Linked DNA regions of Homo sapiens: all the other regions are linked to region 4. Evidence: promoter capture Hi-C in 16 types of primary human blood cells and fetal thymus (Javierre and others, 2016). All regions are on one chromosome and are shown on one strand. The core of a region is centred on a gene start or on the middle of the fragment in contact, and the rest is flanking DNA. Distances in the headings are between cores, read along the strand shown.

Region 1 (3,866 bases), core at 523-3,022, 310 kb after region 4:
GCCTTAGGGAAGAAGGGGAGGAGGAAAAGACGCGGGCGCCTGGGAGTTTGAATGGCAGAGGAGAGGGGGCCTTCTCCCAGGAAACCTCCAAGAGGAAAAATGCCTTGGCCAGTTGGGTCCCCAACCCCAAGCAGGCAGATTGTCCATCCCAGGAGTTTCAGATACTTTAGAGTTGAAGGTGCCACACAGGGATTGTAGGATCTCACAAAATATCCTACACGTTTGGGGCATTTGTGCCTCCCAGTATGCCAAGAAACCAGTTAGGGTTCTTTTACATGTGACCCTACAAGAGTGAACCCACACCGTAAAAGCCTGGGCTGTGGGAAGTCCATGTTCCCCTTGGAGTAAGTGAAAGCAGTATTCAATTATCATTAATGTTATTGCCGTGCAACCCGCCACTTAGAGTAGTATCATTTCAAAAGCATCTTCACATACTTCTCCCTAAGCAGGCCAAGGCCTTTTCAATATCTCAGCCTCCTTCAGTTTCCAATCCTGGCACCTGCTTGAACAACCCTGTGATTAAGGAATCCCAGAGAAAGAGACTCCCAGCCTCTGTTCCTCACTTGTTTGGGAATTTTTGCTCCTCCCTGATGAAAACTATTTCCTGAGACCTAATCTCACCCCTTTTGATGGTTCATTCTAACCTGTCCAAAGATGAGGACAGAACCAACTATGCTGCATTGTTCAAAGATGCAGAACAGTAAAACACACTTCCTTTCTCCTTTGCCCAAACTCTGTCTTTCCTCATCCCCTCCTCCAGTAGTATGGGTAAGCAGGTGACTCAGCATCAAGACTACATGAAATATGCAGAATCATCATTTCAGGTACCCAAGTCCCTGCATGCGTCCAGGCACTCATTCACCTTGTGCCTATCATGTGCAGGCACTGGGCCGCACTGGGGCTCCTGGCAGTGACCACGACCAGGTGTATGAGGGAGTGGCAGGAGAGCTGGGGAAGGGTTAAGGGAAGTAGGGAGGACATGGGTGTCCCCAGCCCTGCCCCAAAGCACACCCCAGTGCTAGGCAGCTAGTGTGTAATTTGACACAGAGTCGGGGCTGCCGTGGCACTGTCTTGACTCTCAGGCAGATTTAGTGTGAATTATCTTCACATGCTGCTAGCCTGTTTCACAGACCCCAAAATGGCCCAAAGAACTGGAAAAAGGGCTTCTGATGCCAGAATTACAGATAATTCCATAGTCTGGCCCCACTGAAAGCTTGAAACCTAAGTCAGGATGTTAACAGACAAGGCTTCCCAATTAACAGGTATCAGGCATCAGGCTAGAATAAGCTTAGTCCCTCCTTTCTCTGACGGTGAGGTTGGGGGCTTTCAATTACATCTCTGCAATGAAAACACTGGATTACAGAGTCCAACAAAAAATTTTATTGGTGTGGTCTGTCCCATTCAGCAATTCTCTGTATTACCTTCTACCTTCACCTCAGGATAGAATCCCATCTGGATTTCACACGTCCCCAAGTCACTGAGTAAGCAAACAGAGACCCAGCTAGAAGGCCCATGTGCCCTATGGTCTAAGGGACCTAGCTTAATTCTTTAGAAGGAAGGAGAGCACTGAAATGACATTCAACTGAGATTTTCCTAAAGGGGCCAACCTACAATAACAGAGGGAGGCCAAGAGCCTGAGGGACAATAGAATGGAACAGATTGGATTTTGTACAGCTCCTGTCCTTGAGGACATAGTCGAATTTCTTAATTTCTTCAAGCCTCAATTTCTGCTTATATAAAAAGGGTCTAATGAGGTAACAGAAGGAACACCCTCCATATACTCATAGTGCCACAGTCAATTCCCAGTCGAGTTTCCCCTCTCTGTTCTGTGCCTAGGATACTTCTCTTAGGAGAGAACACTTCTCTAGGACACTTCTTTCAGTACTCTTCCTCGGGGAAGGAGGCCCCTAGCTAAAAGCCAGGGCCCTCCATTAAAGCCCTTTCAACACCTCACCAGCTCACTAGGTGGAGGTGGGGCTGGTGGGGTCAGATCAGAGGCTTCCCAGGAGCCCTGGGAGTTGGACCCTCCTGGGGAAGATTCAAGGAACTCAAGAAGTGACAGTAGACTCTCTCTGAGGGAAGGTCCAGACTATAGAGAAGCACCTACCTACTTCCTGTGTGGATGAAGCTGTCCCTGGAGGTCAGGCCCAGACCACAGTAGCAAAAGTTAGGTTTTCTGCTCTGATGAAAAGTAGGGCCTTTTTACAATGCTGCTCAGAGAAAGGGAATCCTTGGTACCTTACTCATAGAAGCTTCACACTATAGCAGAATGGCCATCAAAGTGTTTCCATGTAAGCAATTAGCAATTTTAGCCACCTCCCAGGTACAGGTGACTGCAGTAATGTACCCACATGCAGGGCCACAATCACCATCTACTTCCAGCCCTGCTGATGAGCCTGGGTACAAGTTGATCTCCCGGAATAGTTACAGATCTTTCCCCAGCACCCACCTTCCCAGAAAGGCTACTCTCAATGCTCACAAAAGGATTTCCAGACCCAGTCTATATTGGGAAATACCTGGGTTCTGGGTGTGAGGGGTTTCCCCCTTCACTTTTAGTTAAAAAAAAAAAAAAAAAAGAATAAAAGTAGCTCACACACAAAAAAACTTAACTGGTCAAGAACTGTATTATGTCATAGGCTTGTGGTGAAGTGTCTGTCATGTGAGATCCTGATCTCTAAGAAGAAGGACCATGCCTCATTCATTTCTATATCTCTGGCACATAAAATTCAATAAGTTAGCATTAGCTGCCTTCCCTTCTAGCTTCCTTCTCTTTCTCCCTTCCTCATCTATGAAACCTTGACCACTCCCTATTCATCCAACCTTTATTAAGTGTGAGTTTCCTCAAATCCAATCCCATTATCATTAATCTAAAATGTTACCTGCAATTAAACCAGTGGTTGTGAACTTTGACTGCAGATTTTAATCACCTGGGAAGCTTTGAAAACACATCAATGCCCAGGACCATCCCAGACTAATTAAACCAGAAACTTCTGAGGTGTGACCCAGCTATTGGCATTTTTTTTAAGATACCTCAGTGATTTTAATGTGAGAACCACTGAATGAAACTTTCTGATTTCCTTCCTCCTTCTTGGGAAGAATAGACACTCTCCAGCTCCCTTGGCTGGGACTAGGCCCTGCAGGTGTGCGTTATATCCTGTCCTTTCCCACCTCCATCCATTATTCACAATCTCTCCTGTAACCAACTTCGGCCTCTTCACTGATCTTTGCCCAGCAGACATAATAAAATGAAATACCTTCCTCCACTCAGCAGCCTCCTCTTGCTTTAGCCTTCGCTTTTATTTCTTTCTCATCCAACCTTCTTAAAAGAGTAGATTCTTAGGCCAGGCCTGGTGGCTCACACCTGTAATCCCAGCACTTTGGGAGGCTGAGGCGGGTGGATCACCTGAGGTCGAGAATTAGAGACCAGCCTGACCAACATGGAGAAACCCCGTCTCTACTGAAAATACAAAATTAGCCGGTCATGGTGGCAGGTGCTTGTAATCCCAGCTACTCGGGAGGCTGAGGCAGGAGAATCGCTTGAACCCAGGAGGAGGAGGTTGCGGTGAGCCGAGTTCGTGCCATTGCACGCCAGCCTGGGCAACAAGAGTGAAACTCCATCTCAAAAAAAAAAAAAAAAAAAAAAAATGGATAGATTCTTTACTATCTCTCTTCCTCCCTTCACTCCTCAGCTCCTTGCACCCCAGCCATCCTTCCAATGTGTTTTCTACTCCTGACTTCAAATACTATTATTTCCCAGAATTCAGCCTTTGGCCCCCTTACTCCCCACTCCACATGCTTTTCCAAAGCAATGTCATTCACTCCTGTGGCTTCAGTCAGTACTCACTTATGAGTGCTGCTAAATCCAG
Region 2 (4,013 bases), core at 453-2,952, 280 kb before region 4:
CAGAGCGAGACTCTGTCTCAAAAAAATAAAAATAAAAATAGATACATGATGGAGTATTACTTCTCTGAGTTTATTTACCATTTTGTCTAGTTTTGACTTCTGGATCCATGTTAATGTTTTGCACATTAAAAAAAGTTGACAAGAAAAAATATGCAGAACATGCTTGTCCTCAGGCTTGTCAGAGACTCCTATAACCATATAAAGAAGCTGAGGGTTGATCATGCTTGAGCTATGATACTTATTAAAATAGTACTAGAAAGACAAATAGAATGTAGCATGGCAAAAGAGCTGCACATTTTGGGAGAAGGCATTTATTTGTAGGGGCTGAAATGTGCTAGCTCGAGAATCAGACCTAAGAATTACAAGGTGATTAACCAAAGGAAAAAGTCTCTGGAAGTAGAAAACTAAAAAGAAGGTTTGGAACAGGCTGGAAGTGAGATTGAAGCATATCACAGAAATGTTAGACATTCTTCAATGTCAGTGCCTTGGATGAATTTATAAGGCTTTGCCTTAAAGTTACTTGTGGGCTTATAAAGCCTGTGTCAAAGCTAAACAAAGCCAGACAATAGTTTAGACAAGAAGTAAGGATAGGTATTTATTTATTTATTTGAGATGGAGTTTCACTCTTGTCGCCCAGGCTGGAGGGTAATGGCGCGATCTTGGCTCACCGCAACCTCCGTGTCCGGGGTTCAAGCGATTCTCCTGCCTCAGCCTCCTGAATAGCTGGGATTACAGGCATGCACCACCACGCCCGGCTAATTTTTTTGTATTTTTAGTGGAGACAGCGTTTCTCCATGTTGGTCAGGCTGGTTTTGAACTTTTGACCCCAGGTGATCTGCCCACCTCGGCCTCCCAAAGTGTTGGGATTACAGGCGTGAGCCACTGCACCCGGCCTAGGATAGGTTTTTTTAAGTAGTAACTATTGCAGTAGGGAAGAGGGCCCAAGGTGAACTGAACTTAACTTCCTTAAAAAAAAAAAAAATGCAGGAGGCCTTTTGAAGGCTGGGATGTGCTAAGGGATAGGCATGAAGATATTAAGGAGAATTGCTCCATGTGACTAGACAATCTGGATTTGTGAATTGGCTCTTGTCCAGAAGAGAAATAAGCACCTATTTTTACGACAGGAGCTAGTAGTGCAAGTTAGAGCAAGGCACCCACCTGGTTGGGAGCTGGAGCAAGATTTATTTCCTCAAATGTTTGCATTTCAAAGAAACTCTCAGGTCCCAGTGAAAATAGCTCTGGGTAGAAGATTTACATCTCAAAGAGGCAGAGAAAGATGTTTTAATTGCAAGCTTTCTTTCTAAGTAATTGCACTAAGATGAAGTTCAGGGGCCTGTGTCTATTGCTAGGTTTGGGCTGGGATGCACAGTAAATTTTTCTGACAGCGATGAGCTTTTTCAGGCAGGCATTTTAAGCGGGGGGCTGAGGTCCTCCTAGGGACAAGGCCTTAAGTTGCTAGAAGCCATGCTAGAGCTTGGTTAAGGAGAGTCTTTGTTACCTGGCGTCTCTCTGCAGTGCCGTTTCAATGCCTTAGAGCAAGAGAGTGGTGGATGGACAGTGATAGTGATTCACGTGCGCAATTCACAACTTGCATTAGCAACCAGGCAAAAGCAAGTGCTGCTTTTAGAGGCCTTGGGAAGAATTTCCACAAGTTTCCGGCCATTGGGATACAGGGGAAAAGGGATTGGAGGGAGGCTCATCGGGAACAATACATTAGGTAATGTTGGGGTTTATAAATCGATACCCCCAAATATAGTACTGAACCGAAGAAGCAACCTGAAGATCTCTCTGACCTTCCCCGCTCCACACGGTCTCTCCCAAAAAGCTGAAGTTCCTTTATTTGCCTAAGATCCAGACCCTCCAAGGAGAACAGTAGGTTTCTTTTCCTCCTGTAAGACCAAAAATGTAACCACACCTGAACAGACCTTTTCATGAGTTAATGCCTGCTTCTCATGGTCATCTAAATTCCAAAGAAAACTATTTACAAGTTAATTTGTTTCCTGATCAAATCATTCTCTTTAGTAATCATTTATTGCCCATCAACAGAATTCCTTTTCTCCCGCAGGATCCAAACTCATTCTTTCTGTAACCTCATGATGGCGTATAAGCTTTTGCACCTCACTGGGAGGTTGGGTCTTCATTCTGAAGGCTTCTATGTATACATATTAAATAAGTTTGTATGCCTTTTTTCCTATTAATCTGCCTTGCGTCAGTGATTTTCAGCAAACTTCAGGGAGCCAAAGGCCTTGGCTCCCACAGTGATAATAAACAATATGACTTTTGGCTATCAAAATTCCTGCTGTTAGTTAAGGAAAAATTGTGACAGTTTCTGAAATGGACAAATACAGGCATCCTTCCAGTGGATTACTAGGATTTGTCTAGACTAGAGGACAGGATGCTTCTGGGGGTTTTCTGATTCTCTACAGGTCAGTATCCTTCCTTGTCTTGTACTGTTTTGCAACTCTAGAAAGAAAAGTTAAATATGTAGAAGCCTGACAGTGATACAAATGATCCCTGTTCATATTAATACAAATGCAAATTGTTTGCCTGGTAGAGATACAATTGATTTTCTCTCTGTAGAAAAAAAGATGATCCCAGCCAGGCGTGGTGGCTCACCCTGCAATTCCAGCACTTTGGGAGGCCGAGACAGGCAAATCACAAGGTCAGGAGTTCGAGACCAGCCTGGCCAATATGGTGAAACCCTGTCTCTACTAAAAATACAAAAATTAGCCAGGCGTGGTGGTGGGCGCCTGTAATCCCAGCTACTCTGGAGGGTGAGGCAGGAGAATTGCTTGAATCTGGGAGGCGGAGTTTGCAGTGAGCTGAGTCCTCGCCATTGCATTCCAGCTTGGGCAACAGAGTGAGATTACATCTCAAAAAAAAAAAAAAAAAAAAAAGAATCCCAGAAATTAAATGTTTTATATTTTTGCCACAAGAAAACACGTGCAAGTATGAAACTTTTTGTAAGGTCCTCTGAGCTGGCTGCACTATGGTCAAGCCACGGTGACATTCCCCCACCCTTGTGATAATGTACTTTGTGATACTCCTGTCCTTGTGAATGTACTTTGTAACATTCCTCCCCACCCTTGTGACAATACATCCTCCCTGCCCTTGTGACAATACACCCTCCCTGCCCTTGTGAATGTACTTTGTAACATCCTCCCCACCCTTGAGAATGTACTTTGTAATATCCATCCCCTGCCTGTAAAAAATTGCTCCTGACTACACCGCCTATCCCAAACCTATAAGAACCAATGATAATCCCACCACCTTTTGCTGACCCCTTTCTCGGACTCAGCCCACTCACACACAAGTGAATAAACAGCCATGTTGCTCACACTAAGCCTGTTCAGGTGGTCTCTTATGTGGACACGCATAACACTTTTATTATTATTATTATTAAAAAAGTAATAATAAAAAGAGACAGAGTTTTGCTCTTGTTGCCCAAGCTGGAGTGCAATGGCGTGATCTTGGCTTGCTGCAACCTCTGCCTCCTGGGTTCAAGCAGTTCTCCTGCATCAGCCTCCCAAGTACCTGGGACTACAAGCGTGCACCACCACGCCTGGCTAATTTTTTGTATTTTTAGTAGAAACGGGGTTTCACCATGTTAGCCAGGCTGGTCTCGAACTCTTGACCTCAGGTGATCCACCCGCCTTGGCCTCTCAAAGTGCTGGATTACAGGTGTGAGCCACCACGCCCAGCCGAAACTTTTATTTTTTATTTTTTTATTTGTTTGAGATGGAGTCTCTTGTTGCCTAGGCTGGAGTGCAATGGTGCGATCTTGGCTCACTGCAACCTCTGCCTCCTGGGTTCAAGCAATTCTCCTGCCTCAGCCTCCCGAGTAGCTGGGACTACAGGCGCACATCACCACGTCCAGCTAATTTTTGTATTTTTAGTAGAGATGGGGTTTCTCCATGTTGGCCAGGCTGGTCTTGAACTCCTGACCTCAGGTGATCTACCCGCCTCTGCCTCCCAAAGTGCTGGGATTACAGGCGTGAGCCACCGCAGCCAGC
Region 3 (3,827 bases), core at 1,020-3,519, 300 kb before region 4:
GAACGAGACTTGGAAAAGAAAAAGACACAGAGACAAACTATAGAGAAAGAAATAAGGAGACCCGGGGAACCAGCGTTCAGCACATGGAGGATCCCGCCAGCCTCTGAGTTCCCTTAGTATTTATTGATCATTCGTGGGTGTTTCTCTGAGAGGGGGATGTGTCAGGGTCACAAGACAATTGTGGGGAGAGGGTCAGTAGACAAACACGTGAACAAAGGTCTTTGCATCATAGACAAGGTAAAGAATCAAGTGCTGTGCTTTTAGATATGCATACACATAAACATCTCAATGCTTTACAAAGCAATATTGCTGCCCGCATGTCCCACCTCCAGCCTTAAGGCGGTTTTTCCCTATCTCAGTAGATGGAACGTACAATGTCTTGGTTTTATACCGAGACATTCCATTGCCCAGGGACGGGCAGGAGACAGATGCCTTTCTCTTGTCTCAACTGCAAGAGGCATGCCTTCCTCTTATACTAATCCTCCTCAGCACAGACCCTTTACAGGTGTTGGGCTGGGGGACAGTCAGGTCTTTCCCTTCCCACGAGGCCATATTTCAGACTATCACATGGGGAGAAACCTTGGACAATACCTGGCTTTCCTAGGCAGAGGTCCCTGCGGCCTTCCGCAGTGTTTTTGTCCCTGGGTACTTGAGATTAGGGAGTGGTGATGACTCTTAAGGAGCATGCTGCCTTCAAGCATTTGTTTAACAAAGCACATCTTGCACAACCCTTAATCCATTTAACCCTGAGTTTGACACAGCACATGTTTCAGAGAGCAAGGGGTTGGGGGTAAGGCCATAGATTAACAGCATCCCAAGGCAGAAGAATTTTTCTTAGTACAGAACAAAATGGAGTCTCCTATGTCTACTTCTTTCTACACAGACACAGTAACAATCTGATCTCTCTTGCTTTTCCCCACACTGGTGAGTCACTCCTCCTTTCCTCTCCCTCTACTCCCAGGAGTGAATTGTTCCCTCCAAACTAGAAACTGGTGACTGGCACTTCCTAGTTCTACCTGGAACTAGGAAACGAGTGGCAGTGGAATTTCAGTGTCCTTTAGTCTTTGCCTTCTGGCTCCAGATCACTTTTTTTTTTTTTGAGACGGAGTCTCATTCTGTTACCCAGGCTGGAATGCAGTAGCATGATCTTGGCTCACTGCAACCTCCACCTCCCGGCTTCAAGCGATTCTCCTGCCTTAGCCTCCCCAGCAGCTGGGACTACAGGCACGCGCCACCACGCCCGGCTAATTTTTTGTATTATTTATTTATTTATTTGTTTTTGAGACAGAGTCTCTCTCTGTCGCCAGGCTGGAGTACAGTGGCACGATCTCGGCTCACTGCAAACTCCACCTCCCGGGTTCATGCCATTCTCCTGCCTCAGCCTCCTGAGTAGCTGGGACTACAGGCGCCCGCCACCATGCCTGGCTAATTTTTTCTATTTTTAGTTGAGACGAGGTTTCACTGTGTTAGCCAGGATGGTCTTGATCTCCTGACCTCATGATCTGCCCGCCACGGCCTCCAAAAGTGCTGGGATTACAGGCGTGAGCCACCGCGCCCGGCCCCTAATTTTTTGTATTTTTAGTAGAGACGGGTTTTCACCATGTTGGCCAGGCTGGTCTCGAACTCCTGACTTCAAGTAATCCTCTTGCCTAGGCTTTCCAAAGTGCTGGGATTACAGGCGTGAACCCCTGCACCTGGCCACTCCAGACCACTTTTACCTCACCATGTTGCTCTTCAGTTCCTTTGTGATCATGTCTTGTGGAGTCTCCAGCCCAGTTCCGATTCAAGATAGAGCTACTGTGATTTTTTTTAAAAAAATTTAATTAGAATAGGTTAATTGACATGGTTTTATAATTAAAATGATATCAAAGGGGTGGGGTATCTCATTCCCATGTTGCTCCTGTTCACCCCAAACCCCAATAGTTTCTAATGTCTCTTCAGTGTTTCATTTTACAGATACAAGTATATATAAATAATACTTGTTTTTTCTCCCCTTTCTGACACAAAAAGAGGCATACTACATATATTCTACATCTTGCTTATATATATATATCATGGAGTTTTGTTGTTGTTGTTGTTGTTTTTGAAACAGGGTCTCACTCTGTTGCCCAGGCTGGAGTACAATGGCATGATCATAGCTCACTGCAGCCTTTTTTTTTTTTTTTGAGACAAAGTCTTGCTGTGTTGCCCAGGGAGGAGTCCAGTGGCGTGATCTTGTCTCACTGCAGACTCTGCCTCCCAGGTTCAAGTGATTCTCCTGCCTCAGCCTCCCGAGTAGCTGGGACACAAGCGTGCACCACCATTCTTGGCTAATTTTTGTGTGTGTGTATATATATATATATATATATTTTTTTTTTTGAGATGGAGTCTGGCTCTGTCACCCAGGCTGGAGTGCACTGGAGCAATCTCGGCTCACTGCAAGCTCCGCCTCGCGGGTTCACGCCATTCTCCTGCCTCAGCCTCCCGAGTAGCTGGGACTACAGGGGCCCGCCACCACTCCGGCTGATTTTTTGTATTTTTTTTAGTAGAGACGGGGTTTCACCGTGTTAGCCAGGATGGTCTCGATCTGCTGACCTCGTGATCTGCCTGCCTCGGCCTCCCAAAATGCTGGGATTACAGGCATGAGCCACTGTGCCCAGCCTTTTGTACATATTTTTTTAATTTAATTTTTTTTTTTTGAGATGGAGTCTTGCTCTGTTACCCAGGCTGGAGTGCAGTGGCGTGATCTCGGCTCACTGCAAGCTCTGCCTCCCGGGTTCACGCCATTCTCCTGCCTCAGCCTCCCAAGTAGCTGGGACTACAGGCACCCGCCACCATTCCCTGCTAATTTTTTTTTTTTTTTGTATTTTTAGTAGAGATGGGATTTCACCATGTTAGCCAGGATGGTCTTGATCTCCTGGCCTTGTGATCTGCCCCCATTGGCCTCCCAAAGTGCTGGGATTACAGGTGTGAGCTGCCCGGCTAATTTTTGTATTTTTAGTAGAGATAGGGTTTCACCATGTTGGCCAAGCTGGTCTTGAATTCCTGACTTCAAGTGATCCGCCTGCCTTGGCCTCCCAAAGTGCTGGGATTACAGGCATGAGCCACCGTGCCTGGCCTCACTGCAGCCTTGACCTCCTGGGTTCAAGCAATCCTCCAGTCTTAGCCTCCTGAATAGCTGAGGCTATAGGCAAGTGTGAGTGGTGAGCCATACCTGGCTAATTTTTTATTTTTTTAGTACAGACAGGGTCTCATCTGTTGTACAGGCTGGTCTTGAATTCTTGGCTTTAAGGGATCCTTTTGCCTTGGCCTTTCAAAATGCTGAATGACAGGTATGAGTCACTACACCTGGCCCATATTGGTTTCTAGGGATTGTGGCCTTGGCTGTTAGGATACATCCCACCCCCCTCCAAGTCAGCTGAGTTCAATTTGCACTTGTTCTGTGGACACATAAATGGGCAACACACGTTTCCACCACACCCAAAAATAGATTTAAATGCCATGCACATTTTATGTGATAATAATGAGACTTGTTTATCACATCTGTTAGGTTTGACTAGAGACCCTGGAGATCTCTAAACTCAAACCAGTTTCTGTTTCAGAGATTCAGGAAAGACCTGGATGACCTTGCGTCCAACATAATTGAGGATGAGGTTTCACTATTGTGTGACGGTTGTGGAAAGCAGTATGAGTGAACACATACTGTGAGAGTGGATACACACTAGGGTTTTCCTGGCATTGAGAACCCAGAGTTCATCTGCCTGGACTCCCTGATAAGCAGGGTTTCTGTCTAAAGTCCGGCTGCGTCATTTGTTTCACAATGTAGGGGCGGAACAGGAGGAAGCAGC
Region 4 (3,682 bases), core at 1,101-3,600:
CTTAGTGCCACTGTGTTCCCTTCATTTAGACACTGGTGCCCAAGGTGGAAGCAGGTCACAGCACTCCCCGTCCTGCCACTGACTGAGTGTGGATCCTATGGCTCAGGAGTTCAAGACTGGCCTGGGCAACATGGTGAGACCTCATCTCTACAAAAAATTTTAAAAAAATAGCCATGCATAGTGGTCACTGTACTCCAGACTGGGTGACAGAGTGGGAGCCTGTGCCCCCCTCCCCCCAAAAAAGAGAATGTAACATTAATTTACAGGGTCTCTTTTAAAAATCTAATACAATGTTATCTTTTCTTGCTGAAGGAGCAGGGTCGTATCCTAAGGTTAAATCAATTTATAGGAAAAATATAACACACAGTTCCAAAGTGTAACAATTTGACCAAGAGGAATTTGATTCTGGTGCTGTTTCAAATTTTATTTGCAGGGTTCTTTCTTTTCACTTTTATGTTTTTTTCCCTTTTATTTTTAGTTGACATATAATAATTATACATATTTATGGGATACAGAGTAATATTTTGATACATGTATTCAATGTGTGATGATCAAATCAAAGCAATTAGGATACCTATCACCTCAAACATTGATCATTTCTTTGTGTTGGGAACATTCCAAATCCTCTCTTCTAGCTTTTTGAACATATACATTAAATTATTCTTAACTGTATTCACTCCATAGTGCTACAGGATGCTGGAACTTATTCCTCTTCTCTAGCTGTAACTTTGTATCTATTAACCAACTTCTTCCCATCCTCCACTTCCCTCTACCCTTCCCAGCCTCTGATAACCACAATTTTACTCTCTACTTCTATGAGCTCATTTTTTAAGCTTCCATATATGATTGGGAACGTGGTTTTTTATCTTTCTGTGCATGACTTATTTCACTTAACATAATGTCCTTCAGGTTTGAGGACTGAGAAGAGCAGACATTTTATTGTTCATCTCCATGTTGAGAATCAGAAATGTCCCCAATTAAAAAGTGATTACAAATATGTTATATCAGGAACTGTGGCTTGCCTGTGGGTCCTGGGTGGGCAAATAACTAATTTACATTCAATAGGAATGAGCTTGAAATTTCCTAGACATGATATGATTTGGCTGTGTTCCCTTCCAAATCTCATCTTGAATTGTAGTTCCCATAATCCCCACATATCATGGGAGCAACCCAGTAGGAAGTAAGTTAATCATACGAGCAGTTACCATCATGCTGTTCTCGTGATAGTGAGTTCTCACTAGATCTGATGGTTTCATAAGGAAGGGGCTTTCCCCATTGCTGCTCAGTGCTTCTCTTTCCTGCCACCGTGTGAAGAAGGACGTATTGGCTTCCCCTTGCACCATGATTGTAGGTTTCCTGAGGCTTCCCAAGCCATGCTGAACTAGAAGTCAATTTAACCACTTTCCTGGCCAGGCACAGGCCCATGCCTATAATCCCAGCACTTTGGGAGGCTGAGGCAGGTGGATCACTTGAGGTCAGGAGTTCAAGACCAGCCGGGCCAACATGGTGAAACCCTACTAAAAATACAAAAATTAGCTGGGCATGGTGGTGCTTGCCTGTAATCCCAGCTATGTAGGAGGCTGAGGCAGGAGAGTTGCTTGAACCTGTCAGGTGGAGGTTGCAGTGAGCTGAGATTGCACTGCTGCACTCCAGTCTGGGCTACAGAGTGAGACTGCATCTCAAAAAAAAAAAAAACCAAAACAAACAAAACAAAACAAAACCCCTCTCTTTCCTTTATAAATTACCCAGTCTGGGGTATGTCTTTATTAGCAGTGTGAGAACAGACTAATACAGACTACAAGGGTGGGAAATCCATTCTTTTGGGCCAAGTAATCTTACTTTTTTTCTGATGTTCAGTGGATAGGCTGATGTCAAACTTCAAATAGTGAATTATCATAAAGGAAGAAGAGCAGAGGGTGGTGCTGGGGGTAAGATATGCAGCACAAAGGCTACGTGGGTCTGATTTCCCAGACTTCAGGCTCTGAATGACACCTACCCAGGCTTGACTGGGAAGCTCCTATGTCTTAGCCCCTGAATTAATCAGAGGGATTCCTGCCTGGGAACGAAAAGCAGACATTCTCTATCAGGGTCCCTTATTCTTTTCTGAGTACTGGCCCCCCTGAGAGTACAGTAGAAGCTATGAATCTTCCCCCTACAAAAAAGCACTCATGTACCTTCAAACAAAATTGTTCTCAGTTTCCGTGATGCTCTTAGATAAAAAAATTTACAAGACCTCCGGTTTCTGGTTTCTGGGGCCCCACACAAGTGTGCTGGGTGGAGAGAAAATCTCAGTGGTTTTTTTTTTTTTCTCTCTAACCCTGTTTGGTAAGTTCCGTTTTTAGCCCCGGCCTTTTTCTAGCCAGGCTCTCAACTGTCTCCTGCGTTGCTGGGAAGTTCTGGAAGGAAGCATGTGCTCCAGAGGTTGGGATTCGTGTCTGGCTCTGGAATTGCTACTGCTGCCTCTGTCACTCCTGGTGACCAGCATTCAAGGTACTTTCCACCAACTGTGTATCTGTGATTGTGCACTGAAGGCATGGTCAGTTGGGAAAGGGGAGACGGGATGTAGTTCAACCCTAGAAGCCAGATCTGGTGTCTGGAAAGCAGGTATTTCCATTCCAATAGCATGGCCATGGCATGGTTGGGGAGCCTTTCTTAGCACTGATGAATGGAGCTTCATCTCCTTTCCCACGGGGATGTGATCAAAACAGGAACCTGGGGAGCAAGAGAAGTAGGCTCCTCATATTTTGTCCCGTGGTTGGTGGTCCATGAAGTTGTGGAAAAGTGTTTGTTTTTTCATTTTGAATAAGAAGAAGCTCTACACTGACAGCTGCTGCATTTTATGCTCAGACACACTGTACTCCCTTAGGCATTCTTTGAGACCTCTGTATATGTGAGGTGTTGCATCCTGAGCCAAGGTAAATGATATTGTCATTGACCCAAAGAAAAGATAGATCAAAATTATAGGAAGAAAAGCTTGGAAAGGATTGCTGTCTGGGGTCTCTGAATGAGGGTCTGAGAAGAGGCTGGAAGTGCTTCAGCATCAAAGGAACCTTAACACATCTGATTGCTAAGAGTTAAGGTCCATTCCTCTGCCACAGCCTGTTCGGTCCCCGGTGTGTGACCAAGGGCTGAGCTAACTTTCCTTCTCCTGTTAGAGCTGCCTCACCCTCTTTCTTCATCCAGTACCTCTCTTCTTATGCCAGCTGAGAAACAGCAGTGAAACCTTTGACTTTCTTGCTATTCCCCCAAGTAAATACTCAAGTCTTTTTAATTTAAAGGGCTTTAATGCTCACCACTCTGAGTAAAACAGTAAAAATCAACAAACATGTGGTAGTCACACTGTGGCATAAAATGATGATAGTTTGTAACTTTTGGGGAGATGAGGTAGAATGTGTGGAGGATCGGTCTCTCACATATTCTACCTCTCAGGTAGAGTCCTTTGGTTCATGACTGTGTGAGTCTACGGCTATATAGGTTCTGTGGGCCTGACTCAATGCATAGGACATTGGTATGACCTTGGGATTGGGGGCTGATGTGAAGTATTCATCTAACTATTGGGAAAAGCAGGGTTGCCAATGAGAATTGGAATATTTTAGGACTTTCTCTAGGCATACTGAAAACATCCTGACAGTTGACCTTTCTCTGACTTCTTTTCTAGGCTTCATCTTGGTCATTTATTCTT
Region 5 (3,687 bases), core at 117-2,616, 280 kb after region 4:
GTTCCACTGCCCTAAAAAATCCTAAAACCACATACTTTTAACCACATACTTACCCTAAGTGAAGCAGCAGCATGACCTAATTGTGCCCAAAAGCAAGAAGGGACAATACACAACCGAAGATCTCATACTCCTAATTTTTTTTTTCTTTTTTCTTTTCTTTCTTTTCTTTTTTTTTGAGACAGAGTTTCACTCTTATCACCCAGGCTGGAGTGCAGTGGCCCAATCTCGGCTCACCACAACCTCTGCCTCCCGGGTTCAAGTGATTCTCCTGCCTCAGCCTCCCAAGTAGCTGAGATTACAGGCATGTGCCACCACGCCCAGCTAATTTTTGTATTATTAGTAGAGACGTGGTTTTACCATCTTGGCCAGGCTAGTCGCGAACTCCTGACCTCAGGTGATCCACCCGCCTCGGCCTCCCAAAGTGCTGAGATTATAAGCGTGAGCCACTGCGCCCAGCCATACTCCTAATTTTTATAACCTTATAACCAAAGTCATTCCCCTTACAGGATATCAGAGTACAGATGGCTATTTTTGACAAGTGACATCAAAATAGTTTACATATCAGGCTCAATACCCTCACACACTGTTGGCTTCAGTCTGCCTTTTACAGATGGTATTTACCACCTCCAGGAAAATAGTGTGCTTCCTCGGGTTGCCTACAACATATGACAAAATAAAATTTCCCAACTTATCTAGCAAAAGTCCCATGAGCTCCAAGGGGAGGGGGCCAATGTTTTATTTATCTTTGTATCACAATGCCTACCACACAGTAAGTGTGCCCCCAAAACTTGCTGAGATGAAATGAGAGAAGCCAATGCCTTGGCCAGGTTTCCCAACTCTAAACCAGTACCTTCTCCCACTATTCTACATACTCAAATGTGGCATTCACTGTTATGAGCAGGTAGGATGTCATGTCTGCCCTGCCGTTTGTACCAAGAGAAATGGACCCCATTCTCAGCCTGAAAAGAAACTGGGGAGCTAGACAGGGATGACTATTCTCCAAGATTTACTATGTAGGTGGTCCTTTATTATCTCTCTAGCATCTTCCATGACCATGTGTACACTAATGCTGCAGTGCTTTTCCAAAGGCTGACTTTCCCCTACCCCAGCCTTCCTGGCAATTGGAAGAGCATTACTATCATATGCTTAAAGTAACAAAAAAGCCAAGGGTTACCTTAAGCAAGCTGACTTTCAGTCTGTAGAAGCCATTAAACTATCCCAAACAAACAAAAAAAAATAGTAACAAAAAAATTAAAATTAAAAAATAAAAAACTAATAACAAATCACTGAGACCTTGGTCTAAAGATCTTTATGTCTCCTCAGCCAGAGCCCCAGCCCCCAGTTCCCCCTCTCGGCTGTATTTCAAAGGCAAAGGCTAAAAAACAAAAATCACACATGGGCAGCATATGTAATCACATATAATCACATATAATGTCATGAAGTCCCAGGCATGACCCTGACAATCCACCAAGCTGGGTCCCTAACTTCAGTGCTATGTGAAGAACTTCTGTGGAAAACACATCCTTTCAAACAAAAGTTACAAATACCCTTTGCTGCCTGACAAATGGTCAGGATTATCACTTTTGCTTGCAGCAAACCTCTAGAGAAAATATGATCTTATCAATCAAATATTGAGGTCTGGCTTTAAATCTATGAATTCCTGGGGCCAGCATTACAAGAGGAGGTCCCTGAGGTTAACTAGCCTTCTCAAGGGTCCACCAAGGTTAGCTCAGTGAGGGCAGGACCATATCCAGTATCTTTACCAGAGAAAGTACTTTAGTATCAGGCTGGGAACATCATAGGCACTAAATAAAGAATAAACTTAAAAGGTGTTTACTATACTTGGCTGTTGAGAACAAGAATAATTTCAGAGGCATGCTAAGGTAGAAATTTGGTCACAATGTAAGTCACAAGTTGACTCTGAAATGAACTGGAAACAGCAAGTGAAACTATTCTACAAACCTAGTTACAGAAAGAACAGAGCCGTGAGAATGGGGATGCAATTTCAAGGGAAGTATTTTTGTTTGTTTTCACATGAGAAAGACTGGAGTGCAATTTTAAAGGGAGAAGCAAGTATATGATCCCTTTCATGAGCCCCTATTGTATTGTTAGTTGTTCAGTTCATTATTCATGCAACAATTTTTTATTGAGGACCAACTATATGCGAGGAACTGGTTTCAATTCTAGGAATACTTAGATGAACAAAATGTAATCTCAAGGTGAGTGTGTTCCCCCATCTTGAGTCTTAAACAAACTTCCTAGATTTCTTGAAGGAAACTCCCCGAGCTCCTTGGAATCCAGCCAGGGTTTGTCTACACTCTGCCTGAGAACACGCCATGAAGCCTTGCACTAGGGTCACCCAGCCTGTCACCCCTGTAAACTGGGTCATCCTCCAGGATGGAGCCTCTCTTGCCTTTGCATCCCCAGAGCCTGGCAGAGTATGAGGCAGGGGAGAGGAGGAGGAAATCTAGTGAATAGGCCACCTCCATACAGAAATGCTTGTTTTTAACCTTAGCAGGCTGTTTACATGCTAAGCATCTTGCCCAAAGTCACAGAGGTCAGGCCCAGGTAAGACTGGGAGAAGGGACCCAATCTCTTGAGGGTGATTTTAGTACCTGATTACATGCATTACAGTGACAACAGAGCACTGAACTCTCTACATATTTAGAACTAATATATATACTACAGAAACTTGTCTCAATGAATTGTGATGGGCTGTCACCACTGACTGAAATCTCAACTATCCCCTGAAATTCCTATGGCACTTTATGTTTTAGAAATACGTTTTAGAAACCCACTCCTGCCCTAGAGGCCATACAGACACAAGCTTGCTCAGGAGGGTGGACCCAGGAAGTAATCTTTCTTTCTCTATCCTGACAACTACACCAGGAAGTGGTTAAGCCCTCACATTGTTGTTTCTCTCTCTTTAGAATCAGGATTCAGAATAAGCAATTTCCTTTTTCATTTTCCCATTTCTCTCCAACACACCCTGAAGGCCTGCAGAGCAATGATGAGCTCACACTGCCCCCTCCTGCCCATTCCCTCCCTAACAAGGAATATATTCATTATTCCCTGGCCCTCATTTGCTCCCATTCCTGTAAAGAAAGAAAAGCAACAGAATGCCCCCACAAAAGTCAAATGTCTTTATTTTATATAAAAAAAATTTGTACAGTTTTAGTTCCTATGTTTAAGAAAAAAATCCTAAAATTGCCGTAATGTTTAGATCCACTGCAAACTGTAGAAACAAGCTTTTTATATATTAAAAAAAATTTACATTTTACAATTTTCTACATGCATGCACAAGGTCTCAGCTCTGTAACCCCACCCCCCCAAAAAAAAGGAAAAAAAATCTAGATCCAACAGTGGAAAATTCTACATTTACAATCTCACTTGGAAGGGACTCAAAAAGCCCTCTTCCTTTTGCGCACGGAAGAACAAATCACAACAATCACACACCAGGACTGAATCCATCAGCAGATACTGCCCTGTGGGAAGGGCAGAGGAAAGAGAAGACAGACGGACTGACAGACACCACAGAGGAACAGGGGAGTTAGCCTGGGACCAATGGAGGAGAAGTACGAACCCTGGGAAAAAGACGTGTCAGATGAGAAAGTTCCGGAGAGTCCGATGTCTCATCGCAGGTGTTACATCATCAGGGTTTGCCATTGGAATACTGAGTGGAGATGG
Region 6 (3,676 bases), core at 731-3,230, 260 kb after region 4:
CTCCTTCTTCTCCCCAGGTATCAAAGCCTGAGAGTCAACTATTCATAACAGTTACCAAACACGCAGCTCTGATTTGCATGACTTGGGACGAGGCCACCGATGGGGACACAGCATCCAAGGGGACTTACAAGGCATGAATGGGTAGTCTGACTAGAGTTAAATCAAGGAAGTTAAGAGATAATACTGATTACACTGTAGTGTTTTCATGATACTACATCTGTAAAATAACCACATAGAAAAAATAAACGGAGGAGAGAACAAGTACATAAAGTTAATCATCAATTGTTCTCAAAAGTGAACAGGGGACAGTGATTACCCCACTGGAAAAAGCCACGGAAAACTGATACATAACAAAGATAGCAATGCGTATCAGTAGGAAAACAATGGATTTTTAAAAATAAATCACACTGGAACAACTAGACCTCCTCCCACTACCTGACGCCATACACAAAACTCAATTCTAAGAGTATGAAAGACCTCAATGTAAGAGACAAAAATACAAAGATTTTAAAAGGCAATATAGGAGAATATCTTCATGATCTTGGCATAAAAAAGGATTTCTTAAACAAGACATAAAAAGCACTAATCATACACATACATTAAATTTTTAAAAATCCTTTTACTTAAAGAAACCATAAAGAAAGTAAAAACCAAGCCACAACTGGGAGCAGATATTTACAGTATATGTAACTGACAAAGGACTAATATCCAGAAACATGTAATGAATTCCTGTGAACACACACACACACACACACACACACACACACAGAGAGAGAGAGAGAGGGAGACACATGAACAGCATTTCCCAAAGGGCAAAGAGGAAATCCAAATGATCACTGAAGATACGTAAAATTGTTCACCCTCTTTAATAATCCAGGAAATGTACATTAAAATCACAGCGAAGGATCACTACACACCCCTAGATGACAAACACATTAAAATTAATAACGCCAAGTGTAAGAGAGGATGTGGAGCAATGGAAACTTGGTACCTGCTGGGTGCAGAGTCATTTAGTGTAAATGGTTTAGCTTTGTCTTCCACTCAGTAAATCTACCCATAAATATGTACACTAGACTTGGAGGGATTTCTGCCATCTGCACCGGGAGACACATGTAGGAATGTTCACGGGAGTGTTGTGCTAATTAGCTAAAACCCAGAAACAACCAAAATGCTCTTCAACAGTAGAATGAATAAGTACACTGTGATTTATTCACAGAACGGAATATCATACAACAACAATAAAAACTATAGGCCAGGCGCAGTCGTTCACACCTGTAATCCTAGCACTTTAGGAGGCCAAGGTAGGCGGATCACGAGGTCAAGAGATCAAGACCATCCTGGCCAATATGGTGAAACCTCGTGTCTACTAAAAATACGAAAATTAGCTGGGCGTGGTGGCATGTGCCTGTAGTCCCAGCTACTTGGGAGGCTGAGGCAGGAGAATCATTTGAAGGCAGAGGTTGCAGTGAGCCGAGATAGTGCCACTGCACTCCAGCCTGGCAATAAAGCAAGACTCCATCTCAAAAAAAAAAACAAAAACAAAAAAACAAACAAAAAAAACCCTATAAATGCATACCCACAGCTTAGCTCCCACTTAAAAGTGAGAACATGCAGTATTTGGTTTTCTGTTCCTGAGTTACCTCGCTTAGGATAGTGGCCTCCAATTCCATCCAAGTTTTTTCAAAATACATTACTTCATTCTTTTTTATGGCTGAGTAGTATTCCGTGGCATGTATATACACCATTTTCTTTATCCACTCATTGGTTGATGGGCACTTGGGTTGATTCCTTATCTTTGCAATCATGAATTGTGTTGCAATAAACATACATGTGTAAGTGTCTTTATTAATATGACTTATTTTCCTTCCTACTGGGTAGACACCCAGTAGCGGAATTGCTGGATCCAAGTGTAGATCTAGTTTAGTTGTTTAAAATATCTCTAGATCTGATAAATGAATTCATCAAATCTTAAGGTTACAAAAATTAATGTATACAAGTCAATAACACTGCTATACACCAACACAACCAAGCTGAGAATCATATCAGGAGCTCAATCCTATTTACAATAGCTAGCAAAAAAAAATACCTAGGAATATACTTAACCAACAAGGAGAACCACAAAACACTGCTGAAAGAAATCATAGATGACACAAACAAACATCTCATGCTCATGGATTGGAAATCTAAGAGAGTGGTGTAATGGACATTGGAGACTCACAAAGGGGGAAGTTGGGATGAGAATAAGGGATGAAAAATTATCTATTGGGTACAATGTACACTAATTTGGGTGATGGATACACTGAAAGCCCAGACTTCACCACTCTACAATTCATCCATGTAACTAAAAAGCACTGGTACCCCCAAAGCTATTGAAATAAAAATCAATTAATTAATTAAAACTATAAATGCATGCATCAGTCTGGAAAATCTCATAAACCTAATATTGAATGAAAAAAGCAACTTGAAAAAGAACACTTGCAGTATAACCCATTTATATAAAGACATAAACAAGCAAAACTAACTATATTCTGTAAGGATGCCAACACAGTTGTTAAACTACAAAGAAAAGAAATGATTATCACAAAAGTCAGCATAGTATTATCTACAGAGGGCAAGGAGGAGGAGGAGGGGCACATAGAGGGCAATGCTCTACTCTTTAAACTGTGTGCTGCTTATATTAGGGTTTGCTTAACTTTAAACTAGTTCATTAAACCAGGATATAGTAGTTCATTAAATAGGTTCATTAAATATGAATGAATTGGCTGGGCATGGTGGCTCATGCCTGTAATCCCAGCACTTTGGGAGGCCAAGGCGGGTGGATCACTTAAGGTCAGGAGTTTGAGACCAGCCTGGCCAACATGGTGAAACCCTCTCTCTACTAAAAATACAAAAATTAGCCAGACATGGCAGCGCATGCCTGTAATTCCAGCTACTCGGGAGGCAGAGGCACAAGAATCGCTTTAACCCAGGAGATGGAGGTTGCAGTGAGCTGAGATCACATACTGCACTCCAGCCTGGGTGACAGAGCAAGACTCCTTCTCAAAAAAAAAAAAAAAAATATATATATATATATATGTGTGTGTGTGTGTATATATATATATATGCATATGAATGAATTAATATAGTTCATTAAAATACAATATGGTATATTAAATCATGAAGTTGCTATTGTTACGTGCCAAATCTGAGCAAATATTGACAATTTCACATGCATGGTTCAACAAAAACTGAATGTGTGTGTTCATCCAATATAGTCTGTGTATGACATATTTCACAATAAAAGAATGAAAAAAGCAAGAAACAATCACTGGATAAAAGTCAGGAAACCCAGGTTCTAAGGTAACGAATTGGATTCTAACCTGAGTTATAATACCACACAGGTGCCCTTTACCCTAGATTCCACTTGTTAGTGGTTAAACACTGGACTCTGCAGATGGCAGACCACGTTTGAATCCCAGCCCAACACTTATAAGCTATGTCTCCTTGGCCCAATTAATCAATTTTTTGTCAGCGATTTCATCTTGTGTAAAGTAGAGGTAGATAACAGTACCTATATTACACAGTTATTATGAAATGTATGTAAATATGTATGTACATAAATAAAGTGTTGTCAATACTGTATATAGCTTAGCTTAATGCCTGGCACTTCATAAATAATTTATCAATGTTAGTTTTG

What was found. The method cuts DNA at HindIII sites, captures the fragments that hold promoters and counts their contacts. A CHiCAGO score of 5 or more calls a contact.
Region 1: a fragment that was not itself captured here is called in contact with the fragment with the promoter of CD48 in region 4 in 6 of 17 cell types (non-activated CD4 T cells, fetal thymus, total CD4 T cells and 3 more); the score reaches 7.9 in non-activated CD4 T cells.
Region 2: a contact is called between a fragment that was not itself captured here and the fragment with the promoter of CD48 in region 4, in 15 of 17 cell types (naive B cells, total B cells, activated CD4 T cells and 12 more). The highest score is 17.2, in naive B cells.
Region 3: a fragment that was not itself captured here is called in contact with the fragment with the promoter of CD48 in region 4 in 14 of 17 cell types (naive CD8 T cells, fetal thymus, naive B cells and 11 more); the score reaches 12.5 in naive CD8 T cells.
Region 5: a contact is called between a fragment that was not itself captured here and the fragment with the promoter of CD48 in region 4, in 9 of 17 cell types (non-activated CD4 T cells, activated CD4 T cells, naive B cells and 6 more). The highest score is 15.3, in non-activated CD4 T cells.
Region 6: a fragment that was not itself captured here is called in contact with the fragment with the promoter of CD48 in region 4 in 2 of 17 cell types (non-activated CD4 T cells and activated CD4 T cells); the score reaches 9.0 in non-activated CD4 T cells.

The regions. Positions count from the first base shown.
Region 1 is chr1:160,396,012-160,399,877 of GRCh38, reverse strand. The region is part of intron 3 of LOC105371466 (a long non-coding RNA gene); the gene reads left to right. Among named protein-coding and RNA genes, the nearest start is that of VANGL2, 2.6 kb to the left of the region's middle. The HindIII fragment of the contact is 965 bases long and covers 1,290-2,254 here.
Region 2 is chr1:160,985,042-160,989,054 of GRCh38, reverse strand. No RefSeq gene overlaps it. Among named protein-coding and RNA genes, the nearest start is that of ITLN2, 32 kb to the right of the region's middle. RefSeq lists a silencer at 1,362-1,656. The HindIII fragment of the contact is 816 bases long and covers 1,295-2,110 here.
Region 3 is chr1:161,013,929-161,017,755 of GRCh38, reverse strand. The region is part of intron 1 of F11R (F11 receptor); the gene reads left to right. Among named protein-coding and RNA genes, the nearest start is that of F11R, 5.3 kb to the left of the region's middle. RefSeq lists enhancers at 1,254-1,851, 3,493-3,712. The HindIII fragment of the contact is 7,117 bases long and covers 1-3,827 here.
Region 4 is chr1:160,710,490-160,714,171 of GRCh38, reverse strand. CD48 (CD48 molecule) reads left to right here and starts at 2,350. Exons shown (of 4, transcript NM_001778.4): 1 at 2,350-2,490. The coding sequence starts at 2,409. RefSeq lists enhancers at 1,322-1,381, 1,922-2,101. The HindIII fragment of the contact is 2,140 bases long and covers 836-2,975 here.
Region 5 is chr1:160,428,112-160,431,798 of GRCh38, reverse strand. VANGL2 (VANGL planar cell polarity protein 2) reads right to left here. Exons shown (of 8, transcript NM_020335.3): 8 at 3,129-3,687. Among named protein-coding and RNA genes, the nearest start is that of VANGL2, 29 kb to the right of the region's middle. RefSeq lists an enhancer at 1,702-1,931. The HindIII fragment of the contact is 2,927 bases long and covers 1-2,829 here.
Region 6 is chr1:160,447,703-160,451,378 of GRCh38, reverse strand. No RefSeq gene overlaps it. Among named protein-coding and RNA genes, the nearest start is that of VANGL2, 49 kb to the right of the region's middle. The HindIII fragment of the contact is 4,867 bases long and covers 1-3,676 here.